Regions from separate parts of the Homo sapiens genome. Here all the other regions are linked to region 4. The links are contacts of gene promoters, found by promoter capture Hi-C in blood cells and fetal thymus (Javierre and others, 2016). All regions are on one chromosome and are shown on one strand. Each heading gives the region's core, a stretch centred on a gene start or on the middle of the fragment in contact. The rest is flanking DNA. Distances are from core to core; before and after follow the strand shown.

Region 1 (2,700 bases), core at 132-2,631, 350 kb before region 4:
TGTTACCCTGTCCCCATCCTCTGCCCCCCAACACCTACAAAGCTGAGGACCAGACATGAGACCTGTATTGTCTTGTCAGGGCTATTGCAGCAAAGTACCACAAATGCCATGGCTTAAAAAACAGAAATGTATCGTCTCATGGTTCTGGAGGCTAGAAGTCCAAGCAAGGTGTCGGCAGGGTTGGTTCCTTCTGAGGGCTGTGAGGGAGTGTCTGTTCTATGACTCTCTCTTAACTTCTGGTGATTTGCTGACAATCTCTGTTTTTTCTTGTCTTGTAGATGCATCTCCCCATTCTCTACTTCCATGTTCACGTGACATTCTCCTTGTGCACATGTCTGTCTCTGCCTGAATTTCCCCTTTTTTTAAGGTCAACAGTCATAGTAGATTAAAGCCCACCCTACTGACTTCATCTTGACTGGTCTATCTGCAAAGACTCTATTCTCAGATAAGGTCATGTTCATAGGTATATGACCTAAGAATTTCTAGGGGGTTAGGATTTCAACAGTTTGGAGGGACGCAATTCAACCGCTGACAGGACCTATGCAACAATCACTGCAGAAAACACAACAAAACTGAGAAATAGCAGAGGTGGCAGAATGGTCTTGACATTGTGATTTTCACCTCTGCCTTCTAAATCTTGTGTGGTTAGATCTGCTTGGTGGAAGGAAGTAGTGCTATAAGAAATCTGATAAATGGCATAAGGGATTCAGCTTTTTGGCCTCTGAGATGCTATAAAATCTGCCACAAGGGGTTGGGAGTGGAGATGGATAGGCTAAAATGGAGTTGGATGAGCCAACCTGTATTATCTTCCACTTAGGAAAGTAGAGAGCTGTAAGAGATGTTGTGAAGGTTAATGAGTCAATGAGTGATAGAGTTAAACAAACAACAGCATGTTGGTAGTGAATTACTGCTCTCTGTCTCAGGATGCAATTAATTAAATCTCCTTTTCAATTGCTGCAAAAAATTTACTCATGGACTAGGAATTGTAAGTACCTAAAAGGCAAGTGATTTAGTCTCTTCTTACCAGCAAGATTATGTTAGGCCCAATATCTTTGAAACCTGTCAGAGCCTAGGAAGAATGTGGTATATACATACAAAGAGAAGACAAAGAAAATAAAGGAAAATCCTGACATGCCCCAGGCTGATTAATAGTGTGTACCACCTAGTCTCCTAAGTTAAACTCTTAAAAACATCTTCAAGCTTCTCTTTCTGTCTCTTCCTAGCCTAATATTTTCATTGCCACAACCTAGAAATTTTGCCTTAAAATAAACCTCGAATTTGACCACCCCACTTTATTCCTGTGGCTATTTTCTGAATGTAGTTCCTCACTGCTTCGAGATAGACATTTGTAATAACCTGGTATTCCCATCTCTAGATTATTTCCCATCTTAGGCCTTCTTTCACCCTACAGCCAGAGTTATTCTTCCTAAAACCCGAATTTGGCTATGTCCAACCCACGTTCCAAGTCACTGCTGTCCTCATTATTGTTACTAATGATCATTGTAGAAGTAAATATTCGTTCTTTTGATTTTGTAATTTTCTGGAACTTTCCCCTAAGCTTCTGCTACCTTTTAACTATTTGCTGGATAGCTCTGCTTAGAAATCCTATGAGTATCTCAAGCCCTGAAGTGACATGTACAAAACTGAATTCTTATTTACTGATTTCCTTTCTGGCCCCACAAACCAAACCAGAAAAAACAAAAACAAACTTCTTTGTCCTCTCATCCTGTAACCTCTTTGTCATCCACCATTTACTACCGTAATGAGGCACATTATCTTTTATTTTACAATGAAACTTCACAGTTTTCAAATCCAGAGTCTAAGTTATTAGCAACCAAATCAATTTGGTTCTTTCCCTGAAGCCAGAAAAATTAGGTCTCAAAATACTAACTGGAGGTGAAATATTCTCATTCCCAAGCTGGGCTTATTAAGCCAGTAAAATAAGTGAAAACCAAATTAATGAAAATGCAAACAAAGAATGTCTCTATTAAATCAGGCTATATAGGGATGAGTGGTTCCAATCCTGTTATTTCTGTGCTCTACAAACTTCAGTGGTTTCTAGTTGCCTATCAAAGTAAATCACCAGGAGGAAATTACAGTTTGAAACTTTAATACCCCAATCGCATAGCCTTAAAATATAAGCAAAAATTCATGGAACTAAAATAAGAAATAGACAAATTCATCATCACAGGGGAAGACTTTTATACTCTTAACTACTGATTTATTTAATGAATCTGTAAATATATACAATGTTTGAATAACAAAAATGAGCATTTATATAACACTGTACTCAATAACCAGAGAATGGAAATTTATTTCAGGCACACATGAAACATTTATGAAAATTTATGATGTTCTAACACTTAAAGCAAGTCTCAATAAATTTTTTAAAGAGGGTCTTCTATAGACCATGCAATTAAATTGAGGGAAAGAGAGAAACTAGATTTCTTAAGGTAAGAAAAACCAAGGACACACTGGCTGAGATGGCAAGGAGGTGGACCACACACCTGGACCCAAAGAGGAAATTTCCTCACTCTTACAGAGACCACAGGCATACTTAAATCTGAAAGTTGGACCAACCAGGTAATCCATACCTGTAAAAGAAGGCTGTGGACAAAAGGGCAGTGAAAAAATGATCCACTTGGAAGAAACTGCTTAGACTTTAAAAACATAATGATAGGCCAGGCATGGTGGCTCATG
Region 2 (2,700 bases), core at 18-2,517, 310 kb before region 4:
TTGTTGGAAGTGATGACTCTTGCTTGCTGTTCTCTTTTGAGTCCATGCCTAGGATTTTAAGTGATTCTTGACTTTGGCTTCTGGCACACACACAGCAAAGCAGCAAATGCTCTTTACCCCCAGGATGGATCTTTCCCACACGTTGTGCTGCCATATGTGGGCACACCCACCTGAAGCTCTGGTGGTTTTCCCTGGAAAAACACAGAGGGTTTCAAACTTCTGTGGCCTTACTTGGCCCATCCCCTGGGTAGGGCTGTGAGCTTCTCAAGACAAAATAACTTCTATCTTTAGGAAGCTCATCTAAAAGAGGCAAAGCTGCTTTATTTATAGGCTGATCATTAGGGCCATAATTGGATCAGGACTGTCTGCCAGTCACCCTCAGATATTTGCAGCATGTTTTTCTCCAAGTGTGCCTCTTTTCATTATCCAGATCAGAGGCATAATAAGAGAAGGAAGTTAAGTTGTGGAGTTAAGTTTTTAATTTCCCTACAGTTTCTCGGTTTTCTGCACATTATACCTAGAGGTGACTTGCCATAGGTGTATTTTAGCACTGGGTAGGACACACAGTGTTTGCAAAAACAAAAAGAAAGAAAAGAACAGCATTTTGTGCTGGAAATAAGGTACAATCATTCTTTCCTATCTTGCTATTGCTTCTGAGTATATTCAGGTAAATTTAAGGAATCTCAGGATTATCTGTTGTGGTTGTTTTATTTCATTCTGTTTTAATTTGGGGTTTCTTCATTTCAGTTTGTGGTTATTTTTGTTTATTGTTTATTTCATATGTATGTTTTTACTTGGAGGAACCACTGTGGACCCGGATACTTTAGAATAAGTGGTGTGTGTTGGAAGAAAGTAAAACTGAGAAACGATGACCTAGGTTCTGTCCTAGCCCCAGCTGTCAAGCAGCATGATCTCGGGCGAGTCACGTAACTTTTCCATTTATAAAAGGTTTGGCGCCATATCAGCGATTCCCCTGCATGGCTGCCCATCACAATCACCTAAGGAGTGTTTTAGAATAGAGTGTCTGCCACAAAGGAGCATGGGGGAACATTTCCAGATGATGAAACTGTTCTGCATCTTGTTATAGTGGTGGTTACATGACTTGTACGTGATGTCAAAATCTGACAACTGTACACTAAAGAGAGTGAACTTTACTGTAGGCATATTATCTTAATTTTAAATTAAAAAAATTTAAATCTCTTGAATATTGATATAGTGAAAAAATTGCCCAGGCCACCCCAAACCAACTGCCTACTGAACGCTATCTGTCCTTTCGACCATCTCCATAGTTGTGAACGTAATAGAAACTGACTCAGACATTCTAAGTTGCCACGATCCTAGGTTCAGCTGCTGTTTGTCTGTTGTGGCCATGAAGTCAAGAGTAACCGAGGTGCAGGACAGCACTGTGGGCACCTGCGGTTAGAGCATGTCTGGACAGGCTACTTAAATCACAGGGAAATTGGAGGGGGAAATGTGGCTGAGCTCTGGGTTAAATACTCAAGTGAAGCATCCATTATGGTCAGTGAGCAGAAAGTGTAGGCACAGCCAAGTACTGATCACATATAAGAAACCAGTGTATAGAAAGAAGATGTTGTGGCTGGGTGTGGTGGTTCATGCCTGTAATGCCAGCACTTTGGGAGGCCCAGGCAGGCAGATCACGAGGTCAGGAGTTCGAGATCAGCCTGGCCAAGATGATGAAACCCTGTCTCTACTAAAAATACAAAAATTAACCGGGTATGGTGGCGTGTGCCTGTAGTTCCAGCTACTTAGGAGGCTGAGGCAGAAGAATCGCTTGAACCAGGGAGGTAGAGGTGGCAGTGAGCCGAGATCTTGCCACTGCACTCCAGCCTGGGTGACAGAGTGAAACTCGGTCAAAAAGAAGAAAGATAGCAAGGAAGAAAAAGAGAGAGAGAGAAAAAGAAAGAGAAAGAAAAGGAAGGAAAGAAAGGGAGGGAGGAAGGAAGGAAGGAAGGAAGAAAGAGAAAGAAGATGTTGTCTGTTAATAAAAGCTATTGATTTTGGTTTGGGGCATTAAAAAGAAAGAAACATTCTGTGGGGTGAGTTGGACACCAGTCACAAGACAGCAGGTGTCTGGCAGACACAGGCTCACTGATGTGAACTGTGTGGATTTTAAGAGAGAAGAGAACATGCTCTTAGGGCTGACAGGTATTTTGGGGCCCAGCATTAACCTCTGAGAGGATTTCCCCCTAACATTAAAAAAAAAGATATATGAGACCTTCCGAATCAAAAGTGTTTCCTGACGATATTCATGCTATACTGGACTCCTAATAGAAAATAAGGAGCTTTAAGAATAATAGCTTTAAGAAAAGCTAAACAATATTTAGCTTTGTTTTAAAGTTCATGGAAGAATGTAGTAGGTATGTTTTGGGGGTGTCACATTCAAAGCATGCTTCCTTAGGAGCATCCCTCACTAACAGACCCTTCTGATGAGAGCTTGGGTGACAATATTGCTCTAGCATAGCCACCATCCTCCCTGGCTACAGCTGATGGAACCATGGCAGGCACCAATGTGAGCTTTATTGAGAATACCATAAACCAGGACTGTTCTCTGGGGGAGCTAGAATGCAAGGTTGCCTAGGGAGTAGATTGCCTTTGTGTCCTGCAAAGCCAAAGCTATGGGCCAACTCGAATTAGAAGAAGTAACTATAAGCAGTGACAACAGCAGCAGCCACAATTGAT
Region 3 (2,700 bases), core at 113-2,612, 320 kb before region 4:
TCTCCCGAGTAGCTGGGATTACAGGCATGCAGTGTGCCACTACACCTGGCTAATTTTTGTATTTTTAGCAGAGACGGGGTTTTGCCATGTTGGCCAGGCTGGTCTTGAACTCCTGGCCTCAAGTGATGCTCCTGCCTCAACCTCCCAAAGTGCTGGCATTACAGGTGCAAGCCACTGTGACCAGCCTTGTATTAAACTTTTTACTCTCATTTACAAAGCCCTGCATGAGCAAGCCTTGGTCTCGGGGGTTTACCTTATTTTTGACCTCCTTGTCTCCTGGCCTTCTCTCCAGGCATACTGGCTTTCTTTCTTTTCCAACTCACCAAGCTGGTTCCCACCTCAGGTTCTTCGCAATTGCTGTTCTCCTTGCCTGCACTACTCTGCCCTGAGACCTTTGCATGCCCAGTTCCTCCTAAGTGTATTATCATCTTCTTAAGAGGCTGGGTGGCCCACCCTGACGACACTATCCATCCATAGTGCTGCTCAGTACAAAAAGGTAAAGAACAAGTGTGAGTGCAATTTTAGATGCTCAAGTAGCCACAGTGAAAGCACATAAAAAGAGGTTAAATCCTTCTTCATGATATTTTTATTTAATCCAGTATATCTAAGATATTTTCAACGATTAGTATAAAAATGTTAATGAGATAATTTTCTATTCTTTTTCTCATACTAAGTTTTTGAAATTCAGTTCATCTCTTACAGCACATCTCAACATGGACTGGACACATTTCAAATACTCAGGAGGCACATATGGCTAGTGGCAACTGTATTGGACAGCACAGATCTAAAACAAACCCTCACCTCCAGCCACTCTCAATCACATCGCCCTGCTTTATCATGATTGTAACGCTTATTAGTGTTTGAAATTACCTGGCTTATTTACTTGAACATTATTCCGCCTTGTTCTCTATCTGTACCCTGCCCATGAAAAGTAAAGTCCAAAAGACCAAGGGCTTCATTTTATTCTTTGTTGTGTTTTCAAAGCTTAGTATATTGCGAGTTTTCAATAAATATTTATTGAAAGTTAAATGAATGAGAAACAAATGTAATGTTAAAAACAGTGGAATCTGTATGTGGCTTTTACTGTTTCAGTTTTCCCTCCCTTGTGCGATATTTCAGATAGATGATGAAATGATAATATCAACCCCACAAGTGTTACTCCCCTTCCTCTCCATTTCCATGTCCCAGTGTAACTATTGGGCATTGTCTGTGTCCTATATTTTTTCTGGTATGAATTGACTTATAAAGAGAAAGCATTTTCTGATCTACTTTAGACCTAGTCTCAAGTTAGCATTCAACTCACACTAAGCAGGGAAAAAAAACAAACATCTGGACTTTCTCTTCTTTCTTCCATTAACCATTACAAGATTTTTTCAGACAGTAGTCAAGCTGTAACTTGTATTTATTATCTTTTTAGCCAATGGGAGGAAAACCAGGATCTGTGATCAGTTGCAGGCCTTGGAAACTTCCAAGACACCCAGAGTCCTGGGAATTTCCCTCCATTGCCGCTCTGGAGCTGACCCAGGCTTGCCTGCTACTGCGGCTGTATGTCACAGTAGGCAAGGGTTCCAGATCTGTCTGTGCTTATTGCCTCCATCTGTAAAGAATAAACTACAATTATTGCTTATTCCAATATAAGGCTATAGAGAAAATAACAACAGAGTACTTTATGCCCAGTAATGAAAAGCATTGTTCGTGGCCCTACAAAGCAATGGGCATTGCCTTAGTAATTAAGCTTATGTTCCATGCACAGATACTACAATTAAAAACTTTCAGAGTCTTGGAGGGTGGATCCATACTATAGGCAAAGGATAAAAAATAAGTAGGATTTGAAAAGCATGCTTACTCTTTGTAAACTTAGAGAACTTTGAGAAAAGAGAAAAGTTTCTGCAAGCTAGTTTTGGCATTTAATTACATTAGCGTACAACTATTCCTTGGTGAGACAGAATGAAGAGAACCTTGACCCAATTCAGTCCCACCCCTTCCCTATCTTCTCCTCTCTTCTTCCCCTGGTTATCTTTGAAATTATACTCCAGGATAAGCCTGGCTTTGGTTTATCTGCAAACAAAAGGGCTGTCAAATTTAAGAATGTTATGTTTTCGCTTCAGAATTCATTCATTCATTTAAAAATTATGTTGTACACCTATGGGAAATGCAAATGTAAATAAGACCTTAGAGGGGCTTACATTTTAGCAGATTGTACATTCATTAAACAATTTAGTTATTCAATTACAATCGTAATGGGTGCCTTGAAGGAGAAGAATCAGGTGGTATGAGAAGATTTAAGGAAGTCCTGATTGAGACTTTCCTGTGAAGGTGGCCCTTCAGCTACATTCTGAAGGAGAGATACGATTTAGGAGATGAAGGGGGTGAGGAAGTTTTTAGGCAGAGAGAGAAGCACATGTCAGTGTGTTGAGTCAGGGAATAACCTGGCATAATCAAGAGACCCAGACATGGCCAGGGTGGACCAGCCAGCACCCCAGAGGGCTCCCAGATGAGAGGCTAATGAAGCAACAAGAGCCAGAGCCCAGAGCCTCTGCCATTCTCCCCAGTGGTGCTTCCTGTTACAGAATTGAGAGATCCTCTTCATTCATTTCCCTGACACTTGCATATTTAGGAGGTATCTGACATGTGACGCACTGAAAAGTTGTGGCTTTGCTCATGTGCTATAAGCAGTAGAGACACAATTCCTTCTGCTTC
Region 4 (2,700 bases), core at 62-2,561:
ACTCTTTAGAAGAACCACAAAAACTTATCAATGTTGTAGATTACATAACATATACTTGCATCTTGGACAACTTAACATATCTCTCCAAAATGAATAGTTGTTTTCCCTTGGTTATCATGCCATCATTTAGTTGTATTGCATTTTCTTTTTGGAAACCTCAAGGCATTTAGCAAACAGGATTTCATGTTTATTCCCAAAAACTCTGGCCCAACTGTAGAGATTTATAGTCCAATTCAATGAAACCCATGCATTTCTTTCCCAGTTTAACCTGATGTTTCTCTTCTTACCAGAGACTTCCATGTAAATACTTTAACAATGTTAGGTGTGTTATATATAATGAGGTCATAATCAGTTTCAAATTAGCATTGCGCCTTTCACTTATTTATCAATTATATTCCCTTGTGATGATTATGAAAAGGCTCCACATCCTGAGGACACTTGTCAGAGTTAGATTTATTAATGGAATGAAATAGCAAATAATGAATGACTAAATAAATGAATGAGTGAATGAATGAATGAGTGGCTGCCTCCATTTTATGGATGAGGCAGTGTCCGAAAGGCACAGTGAGGTCAGGTGATGGCAGAAAGCCACACACCGATGTTGGTGGCTTTCTGCCAGGTCAGATGCCAAGTTTATTTTCTTTGCTTTCTTGCTTTACTATCAACTAATCTTTAAAATCATTCCCATAAAATATCAACATTAAAGAATAAAAATGGAAAAATAAGCCACATACAATTAAATGGCTTTTTTAAAAGGAGCTCAGTGTGCAAAGGATAACATGAGTAAGGATTTTTTGGGAAATTTTTCACCTAATAGGAAGAATGCTTTACTCTTTTATTTATCAAACCTTCCTCATCATTAAATGGATTCAGTAGTACTTTTTGGTAATAACTCGTGTGTGTGTGTATGTGTGTAATAAAGTACTTTGTATATGTTCATTGTGTTCTTTTTTTAATAAGCTGTTTTAATGAAAAAGACACAATTACCGTCACCATTGCCCACTATATAATGACAAGTAGGGGAGGGGAGGCTAAAAGAGCTTCTACATAGTGAGAGATCTTCCATTGTTATACCTACGCTTGCACTTTATTTCATTTTCTTCCACGTTTGGACAGGTCGAGATTAAATGTGATTACATTTCCGTTGAGAGGCTTTTATTCAGCAACAGGATTCAAAAGAATGTCAATGAGCATAAAATAAAAACGGTGTGCAATTTATATGAAACTCTGATTTAAATGGTCCTAACCAAAAAAAAAAAAAAAGAAAGAAAGAAAAGAAGCTATTTAAAGTAACCCTCCCAAGGGGAGTCAACTGCTCTTCAGTGTGCCCTGAGCCGGCTGTGCCTTCTCTCCATCCGCTGCTCAGATATTCATGAACCGTTGCTTCTTCCAGCCTCGCCTTCTCGCTCCCTCTGCCTTTCTGGCGCTGTTCTCCCTCCCTCCCTCTGGCTTCTGCTCTTTCTTACTCCTTCTCTCAGCTGCTTAACTACAGCTCCCACTGGAACTTGCACAATCAAAAACAACTCTCCTCTCTCAAGCCGCCTCCAGGAGCGCATCACCTGGAGAAGAGCGACTCGCTCCCCGCGCCGGCCGCGGAAGAGCAGCCAGGTAGCTGGGGGCGGGGAGGCGTACCCTTCTCCCGCTCGGTAAGAGCCACAGCATCTCCCCGGAGATTGGCCGTATCCCACCGTCCGGCCCCCAGGGTCCTGCAGCGGTGATGCATATGTTTCGGAGCAATGATGGAAGGAGAAAAGCCGCTGTCGGTGGCAACTGAAAGTGGGGAGAGGTTGCTGCAGTAGCTGGTGCTGCAGAATGCGCGAGTGAAGAACTGAGCCCCGCTAGATTCTCCATCCCGCTCAGTCTTCATTAACTGTCTGCAGGAGGTAAACCGGGGAAACAGATATGCACTAACCAGGCGGGTGCCAACCTGGATCTATAACTGTGAATTCCCCACGGTGGAAAATGGTAAACAAAGACATGAATGGATTCCCAGTCAAGAAATGCTCAGCCTTCCAATTTTTTAAGAAGCGGGTAAGGACAGGTTTTGCTTATTTCTTTTGTTTTCTGTGCTTCTCTTAAATGCTTTTGAATGTTTGCCTGAAGTAAGCCTGAGGTTTTGTTGCTAAACCCTTAATGTAAGCCGTGCTTCTGATGGCAGTGGTAAAGCTGAGAACTATACCTGACTTGATTAGAATTTGTTGGAGGAGGGGCAGGGGGCTATGAAGAGTTGCATTGGGAGGAGGGGGTTGGGCTGAGATGCCTTAAACGGGTTTGAGCTGGGAATGGGGATTTTTCTCTCTCAAGCCACAACAAAGATTACAAGGCAGTCGCAAAGAGAACTGGCTTGAGTACAATTATGGCTAGTAATTTAGTCAGGGGCTAATTTAGCAGCTTCCTCTCATCTTTGAAGGGTTCAACTTTTCTACACCTTTCATCCACTCAGTCTCAAGTGATGCATTATCATCTTCGTTCGTCAGAAGCAGCAGCTTCTGGTTTCCCAAATCCATTCAGCCAATAATTTGCTGTGTCTCTATCTGTGGTATAAATAGCAAAGGAGTAGAATGACCTTTTACAGAAATGATGGAATCCAGCATTTAAAATTGTCTATTTTAAGTTGCCTCAATTTTTGCTTTTGCTTAGAATAACTGCCTTTTTTTTTTTTTTTTTTTTTTTTTTTTTGGGAGAGAGCAGTGGGAGGTC
Region 5 (2,700 bases), core at 66-2,565, 450 kb before region 4:
AGGAAGCATGGTGCCAGCATCTGCTTCTGGGGAGGTCTCAGGAAGCTTTTACTCATGGCAGAAAGTGAAGTAAGAGCAGTATTTCACATAGCAAAAGCAGAAGCAAGATGGGGGATAGGTGCCACATGTTTAAATGACCAGATCTTGTGAAAACTCGCTCACAACAGTGAGACAGCACCAAGCCCCAAGGGATCTGTCCACATAACCCAAACATCTCCTACCAGGACCACCTCCAACACTGGGGGCTCCCCTCTACATTTGGAGGGGACATCCAAACCATATCACCTCCCACTTGATTTCTGAATGTATTTCTGCCGAGGGGCTCACCCACTGCAGCCCAACTGCCAGGCCCAGGGCCTGTGAGTAGTGGTGCTGGCATATCCTGCATGAGTGGCCAAACTTTCAGGGACACGTCCATGCGTACTTCCTTACAATGGAGCTAATATGGCAGCTTTGTTTATCCCTTAGCTCTTGACCCACCAGGTTCTAGTTCTCTTTCCTTTCCTTAAGCCGCCTTGTTGAGGGCTTCTTGTTTCTGGTTTACACGAAGACAGAAAAGCTTAAGTTGTGTGTAAGGGAAGAGACCATTGGCCAGTTTTGGTTGAATGTAGAGGGAATGAAGTAAATTGTGGAGATAACTCTGGAATGATCTGTTAGGACTGTTTAGCAGGAAAGGAGAATGATACAATTGGAGCTATAATTTAGCACTGATTGATACATAATGGGTAGTGCAGTCAATGTTACACATTATACTAATGTGTAAAAAAAAGAGCAAACATTCTTTATTTTCTGGAACTGATTGAATTTTGCTCTCAAATCTTTCTCTTAATGGTAGAAAGGGAAGAGGACACTTAAACTTGCCAATTAAAGGCTTTTTCAGATGATCATATTCTATTTTAGAAAAATATTCAGCTAAATTCATACTTTAAACTTCCTCTCTGGGCTGTTCATCCTTTTCTCCAAAATAGTGTCTGGATATAGGAACTCTTTTTTCTTCATGGCCATGACGTATGGTAGTTTCACCTGTTAGTCCTTATGCTGACCTCTAGGTCTTCACTGGGCTTATTTGAGATGTCTCTTGCTGGCTGACCTGTTGAAATCTGCAACTGGTTAAACTATTGGTCTATTCTCTTGAAATGTTTAAAGCCTTATGATTCTCTTCTTAAAATTTCTCTCACCCTGTAATTCCGCTGACTTGCCCCATACTGAGTTTCTCTTGCATTATAGTTTCTTAGAGCCTTAGCCACACTTCTGTTACCCTGCCTCTGGTTTGGATAGAATACATATCTATAGTGACTGGCAGAATGCTAACATTGGGTCTGATCCAGTGGATTATGGTCTATTATGAAAGGGAGAGTCAAGAGGATACCATGGATCTCTCCACCCAATGCAACTTGCAAATTGGAAGCAATAATATGGCCCTCAAGGAACTGCAGATACTATGCCAAGCAAATACAAAATACTGGGATGTTGTTTCCTATTACTTTCCCTTTTAATTTCCCAATTCAGAACTTGCAGAATATGAATGGATCTTGGAGAATAACAATGGATGTTCATAAATATAGTAATGTGGTGACCCTAAATACTACTGCTCTTCCAGAATTGGTCTTCTACAGAAAAACAATGCTCTAAAACATATCTGTTATGCAGTTATTGATACAGTTATTTTTTTTTCTTTATTCTAACCAATAGGACTCATTTGCTTCATCTGACCTGGTGAGAAAGATCCCTTTACTATCCTGTCTCTAGGATACATTAGTTTGCAGATTCTGTGCCACATTTTAGTTTTTGGGGATGTTGCTGGTCTCATAGTACCATGCTGCTGTGCTGTATTGATGACTTCTTCATGATAGGACTGAAAAGCAGGACGTGGCTGGTACTCTATATATCTTGGTAAAGGATATATATGACAGGGTAGGAGGTAAACTCTAGAAAACATACCAGAACCTAATGCCTCTAGCATCCCTGTTATCTAGGAGATATCCTGGGATTTGCCTTCCAAAATGAATAAAACGGAATATAAGTTGCCACCTCAGTTAGTTCTCTGTCACTAAAAGTGAGGAAAAGCTTGGTGGTGTGGGTGTGTGCTTCTTTGACACAGCCAGGTATTCTGCATGTCCAAACTTGGTGGTGACAGCAGTAGCAAACAACCCTGAGTGTCCCTCTGTTCCTGCCAATTTGATGCTACACCCTGGAAAGACTAGCTAGCCTCTTGGTGAAAAGTTCCCTGATGGAAAGCCAACCATGGTGAGCCATTCCATCATGGAGGGGCTGTCAATTTTTCTTTTCTTTTTTTTTTTTTTTTTTTTTTTGAGGCGGAGTCTTGCTCTGTCACCCAGGCTGGAGTACAATGGCATGATCTCAGCTCACTGCATCCTCCATCTCCTGGGTTCTAGTGATTCTCCTGTCTCAGCCTCCCGAGTAGCTGGGATTACAGGTGCCCGCCGCCATGCCTGGCTAATTTTTGTAATTTTTAGTAGAGACAGGGTTTCGCCATGTTGGTCAGGCTGGTCTTGAACTCCTGACCTCAGGTGATCCACCCACCTCGGCCTCCCAAAGTGCTGGGATTACGGGCGTGAGCCACTGCACCTGGCCGGGGCTGTCAGTTTATCCTTACTATAGTAGGTAATGATTCTGGATTTGTATTTGTCTTTTTGGTTTCTGCCGTAGATCTACAAAATGCTCCCTATATATTCTTGG
Region 6 (2,700 bases), core at 110-2,609, 290 kb before region 4:
CAGAACACCCACATCCACTCAGTTTTGTGTGTATTTATATCCCTGAATATTTGTTAGATTTTACTCTTCTCTGCATCTGAACCCCACAGCTCTAATTCAAGCTCTTGTCAGCACTTGCCTGCACTATTTTATGACCTCTTTACAAATCTGCATGCCTCTGGTCTTGTTCTCTTAAACTCATCTGTGTTGGTTATGAATGTCTGCATTATAAATTATTTTAAGACTGTGTAACTTAAAGCAACATGAATAAACACTATCTTGTAGTTTCTGTGGGTCAGGAATTCAGGAGAAGCTTAAGCTCTGTGGTTCCGTGTTGGGGTCTCTGATGAAGTCATAGTCAAGATTCTAGCTGGAGTCGCACTTGTCTGAAGCTTTGATTGGAACTGGAGGATCCACTTCCCAGGTGACTCTCAAATGGCTCACATACTGGTTGGGATTGTTAGTTGAAGGCCCCAGTTCCTCCTTGGTAACCCTCTCTACAGAATTGTTTGAATGCCCTCATGGCCTGGCAGCCTAGCTTCCACAAGAACAAACAGTCCAAGATGCCAAGGCAGAAGCTGAAATTCCTTTTATAACCTAGCCCCAAAAGTTACCTTTGTCACGTCTACTGTACTCTATTGGTTATGCATGTTCTGTTGGAGGAAGGAGACTATGGAACGGCATGAATATCAAAAGGCCATGATCACTGGAGCCATCTTGGAGGCTGGCTATCACAACACTCACCTCACTGCTATCAGAGTGATCCCTTAAACATGAACCTGTCTAATTAAAGTGGAAATGGTGAAGATACACTGTGGATAGAGGAATTGAGAAGAATGGTGGTGAAGGCCTGAAAGAGAATGGAAGATAAAGCAGCAATTTACTATGGGCATCAAACAGATACGTCGAATGACATTGAGGGTTTCACTGAAGACCAGTGGTAAGCATTCTAGCTGTAGAATAATAAAGCAGAGATTTTGAGTGTGGTGCAGTGTTGGGACTTTGACAGAACATACAGTATAAGAATAGGAGTGCGTGGTTGTTGGTGATGAATTCAAGTCATCAACCATGGGGTCCAGACTAGGTCGTAAAGGAAGTGACTTTAGGAAGACACTGATTGTTAGGAGAAAATGGAGTCATCAGGGGACTTGAAATAGACATATAACACCAAAAATAGATTTAAAGGCACTAGTGAATGTGAAAAACTTCAAAATATATGAGGTAAGTTCAGAGAGTAGGCATTAGAGCTCAAGGTGTCACATGTGGGAGGATTCTGGATTATAACCCAGTCTAGGATGTGGCAGTAGGTATAAAAGGCTGGAGTTTAGAGAAAGTAAAGGCCACTAGAACTCATAAATTCAAGAACCTGGGAATCTAGAGTGTTGGAAATGTCATCCACATGGACACTAATGGTCACTGGTGTTATCATTATGATAGCAGGACATGGGATAGAGAAGTGCGCTATGAGCAGGTACCAAGATTTATGATGGATGTCAAACAGCTGGTAGAGGACAGCAATCAGGAGGGAAGGAGGCAGAATAGTCAGATGCCATGAGGGTCTTCATGCAAGGATAGAGAAACAAGGATTTGGAAGAAAACCTGAGGATCTGTGAAGATACTGACGCCACCACAGTCTCATAGTTGGCTGATGGCACTGTCATTTGAACGGGTTTGCTGATGTGGAGGAAGGTTTAGCGTCCTTCACTTCAGAAGGTTTTCTGGGGAGGTGGTGACTGTGAAGAAATCTAGTTTTACTGAAGATAAGATGGTAAAGTTGTTGATATGGTTTGGCTCTGTGTCCCCAGTCAAATCTCATGTTGAATTGTAATCCCCAATGTTGGAGGTGGGGCCTGGTGGGATGTGATTGGCTCATGGCAGCAGATTTTCCCCTTGCTGATCCTGTGATGGTGAGTGAGTTCTCACGAGATCTGGTTGTTTAAAAGTGTGTAGCACCTCCCCGCTTACTTTCTTCCTCCTGCTCCAGCCATGTAGGTAGGACATGCCTGCTTCCCCTTTGCCTTCCAACATGGTTGTAAGTTTCCTGAGGCTTCCCCAGCCATGTTTCCTGTACAGCCCGTGGAACTGTGAGCCAATTAAACCTCTTTTCTTTATAAGTTACCCAGTCTTAGGTAGTTCTTTGTAGCAAGAACAAATAAATACAATTGTCTTTCTGTGAAGGTGTGTTTAGGGGTGTATGTGTGTACATGTGTGTGTGTCTGTAAGAAAGTTTAATTACCATGAAATAGGAATTTCAGAAAGTATAGTTGAAAAAAGTTGAAGAAAGGAAAAGAGTGGAAGGTTAGATTGGTGAAAAGGACACATGGAGATATCTGAGGATGACAGTAGGGAAAACAGATGAGAAGCTTACATTTCAGACAATGACCTGTGGGGGCAGAGGAGATGTAAGGTCAAAATAAGTGTCCTTGTGGTTTCAAATAAAATTCTGGCATAAGGTTTTGGCAGAGATACAGCAGACTGAGAATAGGAATTTAGGACAACAGCATTTGAATAGAGTCTCCCTGATTGGAAGAGTGTGAACAGTCCAGCTGAGTCTTAGGGTCGTCAGCTTCAGGTCCCCACAAGAGGAGAAACTATTCCCATCTAGAAAGATACTGGAAGATCAAGGAACTGAGGAGAGTTTCAATCAATGGGCATGGAGTGGGGGTTTAAATCTGGATATGACCAGTTGTCAAGTTAACAATATTGTACCAATACCAACTT
Region 7 (2,700 bases), core at 191-2,690, 370 kb before region 4:
TTCTTCTTTTTTTTTTTTTTTTTTTTTTTTTTTTTTTTTTTTTTTTTTTTTTGAGACAGAGTCTTATTCCGTTGGCCAGGCTGGAGTGCAGTGGTGCAATCTTGGCTCACTGCAACCTCTGCCTCCCGGGTTCAAGTGATTCTTGTGCCTCAGCCTCCCACGTAGCTGAGATTACAAGCATGCGCCAACACACCCAGCTGATTTTTGTATTTTTAGTAGAGACAGGGTTTCACCATGTTGTCCAGGCTGATCTTGAACTCCTAACCTCAGGTGATCCGCCCACCTTGGCCTCCCAAAGTTCTGGGATTACAGGCGTGAGCCACCACGCCCAGCCAAGAGGGTCTGATTAATTGGTCTGGGGTGGAGCCTGGACATCTGCACAGATTTTGTAAAAGTGATCCAGCTGATTCTAATAGAGGTAAGAATTCCAATGGCTGAGAAGCCCATGCCAAAGTATTAAGAAGAGCACAAGCTTAACAGCAGACAACTGAACAGGGCTGCGGAGGCAGCAGAGTTGAGGACACCTGCAGCAACCACCACTGTAACCACAGTAGCAGCAGCCACAATGACAGAGGGGTCAACCTGGGATAAGAGAATGCCTGGAGAGGAAGACATCTTGCTCATATGCTCAGCTTTTCCCAGCACTGGCCAGATACACAATCATTCTTTAGTCGGTCAGCACTCATTCGTTCACTGAGTGCCATGTTCCTAGTACAGGGACGGGGCAGACAGAGGTAGACAAGACCCAGTCTCTGTATTTGAAGAGGGGAGACTAACATTACAGGTGCACAATAGAAGTGTGCACAGAACACAAAAGAGACACAAATGAGGGAGTGCACATTCCATCCGGGAAGGCTGTGGGACAGGAAAGACAAAATATTACCATTTAGTCCACCAGGTGGCTGGGGGATGGAGACAGGTGGAGAGGTGTTAAGGGGATGGTGATGGTGGCCATGGGAGTGGCCATTGATTGAATCAGAGATGCAGGATGGGGTTGGTTGGGATTAAACATTTCCTGGAAGAATCCACTCAGGGTATGCAGTATGGTAGAACAATTTCACTATGTACCCATTAAGTATATATGGGTGGCAGTCGAGTGGGTGGGAAGGAAGGGACTGTGGAGGCAGCAACAAGAAAGGCTTTGCAAGGAACCCATTCTTAGCTATCTTCCTCCCACTTGCAGCATCTCTCAGGGATCTGTGGTTCCTGGGTTCCTGGTCTTCTTAATCCTCAGTCGCCACAGGACTGTGTGCTGGCAGGCAGAGGGCTGGAGCCTGGCAGAGGTACCTCCGGCCCCAGGGCAGTGCATGCAGCCAGCTCTGACCTGGCTCCTGCTATCGGGATCTGTCATTAGTAAAACCCCAGCTCCTTTGCCAAGTGCCAGCGCTCCCCACCACCCTGCCATGGCTAGGCATTCTTAGTACAGTGTAACAGTATCCACACTTTTAAGAACATCCTGGGCATTTGAAACCTTGTCAAGTGTAAAGAAAACTATGGCTTGAATCTCTGAGCCTTGTTTCCTCTCCAGGGGAAGTAATAGGCAAGGTTGTATCCTTTGGATATCATTTCAAAAAAATCTTTCAATTTCCCAGGAGAAGAGACTGCAAGAGAAAAAAAAAAACTCAGGAGAGTGTATAGAATACCTTTCATTTAGCAAGATAAAAGCTAGTCTGCTAAATTAAAAATAGCGCATTCTAAGAACTGGAAGGGACAATGCTGGGCTTGTTCAGTGGCTGTGAAAGGACACTTTATCTCAGTCATGCTTGTCTCGTGGGGCAACTGGCAATGATTGGGAATTAGCAAAGCCTGGGAAGCCTGAGACAGGCACCTCTTCCTGGGCAACTGATTCATCATATAGAGTGCAGTCTCCGCTTCTCTGCTTGTAAAACTTATAAGGTACTTGCTCGGGAATAAACTAATAAAATCATTTATAGCCTCACAGAATATAGAATTTGAAATGGCAAATATTTTTATCAGGTTGCTCCTGATACCTTAGCTTTTAGGAATTTATTGTCCCCTTTGAAAACCAGAAATAGGTGAAGAAAAGATGTGATTCTAATATTACTTGTCTTCACCAGCAACTTTCATTTCTCTCTGGGGAGATGGGCAGGTTTCATTGTGTTTTTGATGCCTGATTACCCTCTCTGAGGGGAACATTCAAATTCTTAGACGAAATTCATTAAATTGTTGGAAATTCCTAACGAACCCATCACTCAGTAACCTTAACTGGGTGGGTTCTTAATTTCCTGGTACCACCACACCCTGAATAGCATTCTAATGAGGAAATAGATGTAGCAATTCTTTCATTTGTATGACTTTTTAAAGCGTATGTTTTTATTTCCCTTGCAAAAGAAAGTATTTTAATACAATGGAAAGAATTTGTAACAACGTTAAGAGAGACAAGCTTCATACATAATATAGATCTCCATTGTTCCTGTAGAGGAGAGAGGGGTAGCTGAGTAGGGATGCTTTCCAATGATGACCTGGTTTGATTTACAATATGACAGAATCAATGGCAGTTCAAAAAGTGGTTTCCAGCACTTTGGATTCTGGTAATTTGGGGATTGTTGTATTTGCTATCTAAGGAAGGTAAAGTTGAAGAATATAATTTCTTCTAAACTAAGTGTACTCATGCTGAAAATGAGTTGGTATGTTACAATATTGTTTATAATAGGAAAGATTAGAAACAATTTAAATATT

The links. The method cuts DNA at HindIII sites, captures the fragments that hold promoters and counts their contacts. A CHiCAGO score of 5 or more calls a contact.
Region 1: a fragment that was not itself captured here is called in contact with the fragment with the promoter of SGK1 in region 4 in 1 of 17 cell types (monocytes); the score reaches 8.4 in monocytes.
Region 2: a contact is called between a fragment that was not itself captured here and the fragment with the promoter of SGK1 in region 4, in 5 of 17 cell types (neutrophils, monocytes, total CD4 T cells and 2 more). The highest score is 8.6, in neutrophils.
Region 3: a fragment that was not itself captured here is called in contact with the fragment with the promoter of SGK1 in region 4 in 13 of 17 cell types (neutrophils, activated CD4 T cells, naive CD4 T cells and 10 more); the score reaches 18.1 in neutrophils.
Region 5: a contact is called between a fragment that was not itself captured here and the fragment with the promoter of SGK1 in region 4, in 1 of 17 cell types (monocytes). The highest score is 7.8, in monocytes.
Region 6: a fragment that was not itself captured here is called in contact with the fragment with the promoter of SGK1 in region 4 in 9 of 17 cell types (activated CD4 T cells, neutrophils, monocytes and 6 more); the score reaches 7.9 in activated CD4 T cells.
Region 7: a fragment that was not itself captured here is called in contact with the fragment with the promoter of SGK1 in region 4 in 1 of 17 cell types (monocytes); the score reaches 5.1 in monocytes.

The regions. Positions count from the first base shown.
Region 1 is chr6:134,667,893-134,670,592 of GRCh38, reverse strand. No RefSeq gene overlaps it. Among named protein-coding and RNA genes, the nearest start is that of LINC03002, 130 kb to the right of the region's middle. The HindIII fragment of the contact is 358 bases long and covers 1,203-1,560 here.
Region 2 is chr6:134,623,658-134,626,357 of GRCh38, reverse strand. No RefSeq gene overlaps it. Among named protein-coding and RNA genes, the nearest start is that of LINC03002, 85 kb to the right of the region's middle. The HindIII fragment of the contact is 7,681 bases long and covers 1-2,700 here.
Region 3 is chr6:134,641,180-134,643,879 of GRCh38, reverse strand. No RefSeq gene overlaps it. Among named protein-coding and RNA genes, the nearest start is that of LINC03002, 100 kb to the right of the region's middle. The HindIII fragment of the contact is 751 bases long and covers 987-1,737 here.
Region 4 is chr6:134,316,723-134,319,422 of GRCh38, reverse strand. SGK1 (serum/glucocorticoid regulated kinase 1) reads left to right here and starts at 1,311. Exons shown (of 14, transcript NM_001143676.3): 1 at 1,311-2,031. The coding sequence starts at 1,963. RefSeq lists an enhancer at 1,484-1,763. The HindIII fragment of the contact is 10,717 bases long and covers 1-2,700 here.
Region 5 is chr6:134,770,235-134,772,934 of GRCh38, reverse strand. The region is part of intron 3 of LOC101928277 (a long non-coding RNA gene); the gene reads left to right. Among named protein-coding and RNA genes, the nearest start is that of ALDH8A1, 180 kb to the left of the region's middle. The HindIII fragment of the contact is 1,508 bases long and covers 562-2,069 here.
Region 6 is chr6:134,607,316-134,610,015 of GRCh38, reverse strand. No RefSeq gene overlaps it. Among named protein-coding and RNA genes, the nearest start is that of LINC03002, 69 kb to the right of the region's middle. The HindIII fragment of the contact is 1,971 bases long and covers 374-2,344 here.
Region 7 is chr6:134,688,459-134,691,158 of GRCh38, reverse strand. The region is part of intron 4 of LOC101928277 (a long non-coding RNA gene); the gene reads left to right. Among named protein-coding and RNA genes, the nearest start is that of LINC03002, 150 kb to the right of the region's middle. The HindIII fragment of the contact is 1,932 bases long and covers 475-2,406 here.